2 separate regions of the Homo sapiens genome follow, and region 1 is linked to region 2. The links are contacts of gene promoters, found by promoter capture Hi-C in human tissues and cell types (Jung and others, 2019). All regions are on one chromosome and are shown on one strand. Each heading gives the region's core, a stretch centred on a gene start or on the middle of the fragment in contact. The rest is flanking DNA. Distances are from core to core; before and after follow the strand shown. Region 1 overlaps RASSF8 (Ras association domain family member 8). Region 2 holds the start of BHLHE41 (basic helix-loop-helix family member e41).

Region 1 (3,504 bases), core at 792-3,291, 160 kb before region 2:
CACCAGTGCCCAGTATATGTAGTAGGTGCTCAATAAATATGTTGATATAATGAGTAAGATCGTAATATCAGTTTGTATCTTTATCTTTTTTTTTTGAAATGGAGTCTTACTATGTTGCCCAGTTGGTCTTAAACTCCTGGCCTCAAGTGATCCTCCTGCCTCAGCCTCCTGAGTAGCTGGGACTACAGGTGTGTGCCACCATGCCTGGCTTCTGTATTTGTATCTTGATTGCCTTCTTTATCACTGTTAAATTTGCTTTTCATGATAGAAAAGCCAGACCCACACTTTTCTATATTCCTTCTTTGCTGGTTATATGTATAATATGAAACGGCCTTTGCAAATATCAGGTAAAAATGCATGTAGGTTCTGTGAAATATTCGTAGTAATAAATTGAGACACCTTTTAATTAGTGTTACCCTTGTGACTTTCTGTTGTACATAATCCTTTTTCTAAATACATCATTAAAATAATTATTTTTTTATCAGCATAAGCTTACTGAAAGGAAAAAAAATCTTACTGTGCCTTACTATTTTACAGAGCGTCACATGATAACACGTTAGTCAGCTGCTGTCGGCTGGTGGTGCCAGACATCAAAGGAAGATTGGGAAAACTTTAGTAGAAAAACAAGACCTAGAGTTCTAAGGATGCTCAGTGCTGTCCAGCTGTTGATGTGACTTGCATGGTAACCAGACATCACTGGACCATACACTTAAGAGAGAGGAGGAGTTTTTTTTAAAAAAAGTGGGAGCCACCTAGAAGTCTGGAAGTTCTTTTCTTCTCTCTCACTAAAGCATTCCTTGTTTTAGCCAAAAAAAAAAAAAAAAAAAAAAGTCTCATGACCTTCCAAGGCCAAGGAAGGCTTACAGCTTTGAGTATTTTTGTCATGTGGTTGCTCTTTACGAAATATTAGCTTGATGTCCTCTAACTCTGAAGTACTTATGTCTGTTATTGATGTTTGTAATCTCTACTTCTTACATAATTCTGCATTTTTCTCTTGACTTGTTTTTTAGGACTTTAGTATTCCTTAAAAATCATTTCCTCACACCCTTAGAGTGTAGTTCTAGTTCTTTCTAGTTTTGTATCTTATAGATCACTGAGTGTGTGGGGGCACTTTGGAGCTGATTCAAGTCCTTCAGAACGTACTCCTCTGCAGTCCACCTCGGGGGTTCCCAAACTGTGATCCTTTGAGTGGTCTGGACCCTGAGGTTTCCGTAGCCTGGGTGCTCTTGGGTTGGGAGAGCAAGGAGGATGAAAGCAGCATTTTTGAGCCCCTGTTGGGTGCTCTCGAAGAGGAGGAGTGAGTAGTTTATCTGGTCAGAATTGGAAAAGTGAAGCTTAGGCTTTCTTTCCATATATTTGCTTCACAAAAGAAAATTGTTCCTTTTGTTCCTACATTTCCCCACTCCTGATTTTCTAGTCAGGAAGGCATGAGAAGAGAGAGATGCCCCTGCAAGCCAGACCCTTACCCTGGTGCTTATTTAGACCTGATTTTAAAAATGTTGAGAGCAAGCCCTGAGAGGGGCACACCAGGTGATTTGCCTCGTGTAGGCCCTCTGTGCCTGCAGGACATTCGCATCACGAGTAGCTGCCACTGTGGAGGAGAGGAAAGTTATGGTTGGGAACCCTTGTTATTTTTTTTCCACCATGTATATATGTCCACTGGTTACTTGGGTGACCTTGAACAAGTTGCCTTGAGCTTTTTAACACCAATAATATTTATTACCCATTTATTTCACAGACTTGCTATAGGATTTAGAAAGCTATTCTTAGCAAGTGTTTTTTTTTTTTTTTAAATCACATTCAGATATATCACAAAATATTGCAGTGAACTGTAGGGCTGTCCAAATTTTATGTATGCAGCAAAATATTTTCTTACTCATTAGCATATGTTTTACTCTTTGTTTTAAAAAGAAATCAGATGTAAATGCAGGTTATAACAAGAGGAGAGCTGTGATGGTTTGCTACCAGGTTTTATGTAGGTAATATATTTTGTCACTGTTGTTATATTTGGTCACTGTTGTTAGCTATCATTGGCTCGTGAGTGCTAAATCATGTTTATCCTTATAGTAATTTTACTATTGGAAAATCGCTTAAGACTAAATTATTCTTCCAGATACAAGTATATATGTTTAAAAGAAATTGGGATTCTCTTTAATGGATAGATATTGGGCAGAAAGTAAGGTTTTACCCTTATTTTTGCTTAAAATATTTGAGTGGATTTATAATCGATGAAACTCTACTGTAAAAATACCAGTGAGAAATAGGGATGTTTTGTAATGTTGAAGGTAAAATTTGTTCATTTCTATGGGAAGTTCTAATACGTTAAATGTCAGAATATCTTATAGTAGTTTATTTGTGCTGTATTTTTTCTTTTTAGTGTATAATGACTTCCCTTATATTTCTTTTTTTAAACAGCTTTATTTAATTAATTAATTTATATATTTTTTGAGACGGAGTCTTGCTCTGTCGTCCAGGCTGGAGTGCAGTGGCACGATCTTGGCTCACTGCAAGCTCCGCCTCCCGGGTTCATGCCATTCTCCCGCCTCAGCCTCCTGAGTAGCTGGGACTACAGGTCCCCGCCACCACGCCCAGCTAATTTTTTACATTTTTATTAGAGACAGGATTTACCATGTTAGCCAGGATGGTCTTGATTTCCTGACCTCGTGATCCGCCTGCCTCGGCCTCCCAAAGTGCTGGGATTACAGGCATGAGCCACCGTGCCCAGCCTTAAACAGCTTTATTGAGATATCATTGACACACAATAAACTGCACATACCTAACTGTACAATTTTACAAGATTTGATCTATGTATACACATGAAATCATTCCCACATCACTTTCCCAAATTTCTTTTTTTTTTTTTTTTTTTTGAGACAGGGTCTTGCTCTGTTGCCCAGGCTGGAGTACAGTGGCATGATCTTGGCTCACTCAACCACTGCCTCCTAGGTTCAGTCAATTCTGCCTCAGCTTCCCGAGTAGCTGGGACTACAGGCTTGTGCCACCATGGCTGGCTAAGTTATGTATTTTTAGTAGAGACTGGGTTTTGCCATGTTGGCCAGGCTTATCTCTCCACCTCAAATGATCCGCCCACCTTAGCCTCCCAAAGTACTGGGATTACAGGCGAGAGCCACCATGCCCACCCCAAATTTTCTCATTCTCCTTTGTAATTTATCTTCCTTTCATTCTCCCGTTTCCTCTAAACCACTGGTCTGCTGTCACTATAGAGTAGTTCAAATTTTCTGGAATTTTAGATTAATGGAATTATGCAGTAATATACTTTTTTTTGTTGTTGAGGCTTCTTAAACTCAGAATAATGGTTTGGAGATTCATTCATGTTGATTTATGTAGTAGTAGTTTATTCCTCTTCATTGCTGAGTAGTATTTCATTGTGTGAGTACACAGCAATTCATTTATCTACCTATTGATGAACATTAGATTTGTTGCTAATTTTTGGCTATTACAAATAAAGCTGTTATGAATACTTGCATACAAGTATTGTATAGA
Region 2 (3,164 bases), core at 470-2,969:
GTTGACGAGAGAAGCGGGGTGGCGGAGGTGCGGAGCGGGGAGAGGGCGCTCTCCTCCCAGCTGAAAACCAAAGTGGAGCGGGTGCAACCGCCACTTTAAATCCTGATTCCTCCGAGTTCTGCTGAAAGCCTCTAGGATGCTTCGGGAAATGGGCTCGTTCCAATGAAGGGAAAGTATAAGCAATTTAACAAATGAGAGGGAACCCATGAGCCCACGGAAAGAGATGGGGTGCGGGTGAGGGAGTCCTGACACTGCTCCCCTGTGGGCTGCCCCGCTTCATCAGGGTAGGCTGGCCTCCCTGAACTGACTTACCATTCTGTAAAGCAATTATCTTCTGATGCTGTTGCTCGGTTAAGGCGGTTAAAGCTTTTAAGTGTTTCAAAGTTAATTCCAAGACTACAGCTTTCTCCAGATGTCCCAGAGTCTGCAGTGGTGCAAAAAAGAAACGGGCACTTGGTTACTTAAAAACACACATTTGGCTTAATTGGCTGTCCATTCAGCACAGCAATTTAAGCAAACACTTTGAAAGAAGTACTGTTCTTTTACTTCTTGAGCTTTCCACAAGACAGGTTATAAATGATTTCTTGCCTTCAGCTGGGAGCACCTACTCCAGTTTGCGGGAAACTCTGTACGGTATAGCACAAGTTTTAAGTCAGGAACTTATATTTACATTTATTCTTATATTTTCTGGGAGTCGCACCAGACTATTAACACGCCCTTGGAGAGCAGCAAAGAATGAAAATGTGCATCTTACTGTCAATTTCAGATGTTCAGGCAGTAAATCTTTCAGCTGAGCAATGCATTCATTAATTCGGTCTCTTCTTTTCTTTTCTATTAATCTGTGCGGTAATTTGTAGGTATCCTTAATATATGAGAGTCATGGAAAAGAGAAAACAGTAAGCGAAACATTCACTTATTGGATATTACCCTCGTCTGCCCCCCCCGCCCCCCCACCATAAAACATACTATGTGATAAACTACACCCAAGAAACCTCTTTCCTCTGGACTGTTCTGCAATGCAATTTAAATTCAGGTATGATGTTTAATATCCCCCTGAGAGTACCCAGCAAGCCACTTAAAATTCACAGTTGGGGAAGCTCAGGGGCTGGAATATATTTGCGGGCAGAGCTTCACTGTGAAATCAATGGCTCTAATTAACTACCCATGCAGGTTATGAGGAATATCGGGAACTTACACTTACCTTGGTGTCGTCTCGTTTCATGCTCCTTTTGGGTTTACACATATACAAAGAGGAATAGTCCAGTCTGCAAAACAGAAATCAGCATCAGGCACCCATTCGGGGAGGGGCTCTGCCCTCGCCAGCTCCATACCACTTTCTGGAGAAGAAAAAAATCAAACCAAAGCCTAGACAGATATTCGCAAGGGTGCGTGCACCTTACCCTATAAAATCTCTATGTTCCAGTAACTGTCTCTCTTGCAAATGAGGAATTCCTTCGTCCATGTTCAACTGCTGTTCGTTTCCTCTGTTTCGATTTTTGGGGCTCTGTACAATAATCTGTGGGACGGTAGGCTTGGGAGACCTTGGGGGGATCTGTGCGTCTCCAGTCTCTCTCTCGCTCTCCCTCTTCAGTGCAGTGTTGAAAGTGTGAAGCAGTTGGTCCCCCCCCTCCACCGCGCTCGCACACACACACGCACACACACGCACACTCGCGCCGGCCCCACTGCGCTGGTAGTTTGCTCTCACTCCAGGCAGTGTTTGGCCACAGGGCACGCGCGTCGCCGGCCAGACCAGCACCCAGCTCACGTGCGGAACGTACCATCCGCGGTCCAGCCCGGAGGGGGGCGGGGGAGGAGGGGCCGGGCCGGGCGGGGGCGTCGGGAGAAGGCGGCGAGAGAAGGCGAACGGCAGGAGGGGGCGGGGACACCTGATCAGGGCCACCGGAAAGGAAAAACAACTTCGGCCAAGCTATTCATCTTCCCAAAGGCGATGCAGTCGGCAGGAGGAGGGGGGAGTGGGGGTGCAGGGGTGCGGGGCAGCCTGAGCTTCCTTGGCTCCAAAATGCGACTCCCTGGGTTCGTCCGTTGTTACGGTGCAGGAATGTGAACGTGGCTTTTTGCTTTTCCACCGATTGTGCTGTTGGTTTGAACCATAGAAAGGAAGTGAAAAGAGAATTCGCGGTGGGTAAACTTGAGTCCCAAAGGAAATTTTGGAGACTTGTTTGCTCACTGATCAGTGGCCTGGAGGGACTCCTTGGCGCTGGGTGGAGAGGTTGCCTCGAGAAGAAGCAACTTGCAATCCGCTCCTTGAAGGATTTAAGATACATGAAAACGTTGTCACTGGGTCCGAATGTCGCAATCCAAGTGTCTTTCGGTGACACGGCGTCCCTGGGCCAACTAAACTTCCCCGCAGCAGCCGGAATTGCGGTGCCACTAATCACAGCAGCAGATGACGACGTTTGGGGCCGCGTGTGCTCCTGGAGGAACGCGGCGGGGAGCGAGCCGGGGTTGAGTGGGGGCTGGGAAGGGAGAAGGGGGTGGCACGAGAGGGGGTGGCACGAGAGGGGCTACCACAGAAAAGCTATGCAGCATTTATCACCCGCCCGCTCAACTCTGCCGCGTTCTGAGCCTCCGGTGACGCTACGTGCTTTCCCCATCCCCCCGCCCCCCCGCGCGATAAGAGACGCCCGGAGTGTGCAGAGCCCACGTTTACTACCGCTGGCACCTCCAAAGCCTCCCTCCTTAATCCGGTCTCAAACGGGTACCAGCACAGGGCCAGCAACGTGATCCGACCTGCCGCTGCTGCCACATCACTGCTCGGGGAACCCGTGCGCGCGCGCGCTCGCCCTGCAGCCGCGGCGCTCGGCGCCGGGAATCACAGGCCAGCAAGAGCCGGGTTACCTTTCCCCAGAGCCACCCTGGGAGCATGACTCACTGCTAGTGAGAGTTACCGGGAGGTGCCCGGGGATGCGCACTGCCCACGCCGCCCTGCCAGCCCAGGGGAAGGCATGTCCTGAGGGACTCCCAGGGGTGGGATGGAGGCTATATATATATTTCTCTAGATATACATAAAGACATAGAGAAAAAAACCAAGGTTTTTCCTGCACAGAGAGGGATATTTACATTCTCCCCGGGGTGATCTCTGAAACGTTGATTATTGCCGGTGATAAGTGAACCGAGGGGAGAAGAACGCCAAAGGTACATGC

What was found. Contacts are between HindIII fragments. The study calls those that stand out against the background at their distance.
Region 1: a fragment that was not itself captured here is called in contact with the fragment with the promoter of BHLHE41 in region 2 in 1 of the 25 tissues and cell types used here (hippocampus).

Annotation. Positions count from the first base shown.
Region 1 is chr12:25,962,514-25,966,017 of GRCh38, forward strand. The region is part of intron 1 of RASSF8 (Ras association domain family member 8); the gene reads left to right. Among named protein-coding and RNA genes, the nearest start is that of RASSF8-AS1, 4.8 kb to the left of the region's middle. The HindIII fragment of the contact is 5,796 bases long and covers 1-3,504 here.
Region 2 is chr12:26,123,318-26,126,481 of GRCh38, forward strand. BHLHE41 (basic helix-loop-helix family member e41) reads right to left here and starts at 1,720. Exons shown (of 5, transcript NM_030762.3): 1 at 1,401-1,720; 2 at 1,202-1,265; 3 at 755-862; 4 at 313-424. The coding sequence starts at 1,462. It also overlaps a transcript of SSPN not described here. RefSeq lists a silencer at 3,132-3,164. The HindIII fragment of the contact is 3,249 bases long and covers 1-2,205 here.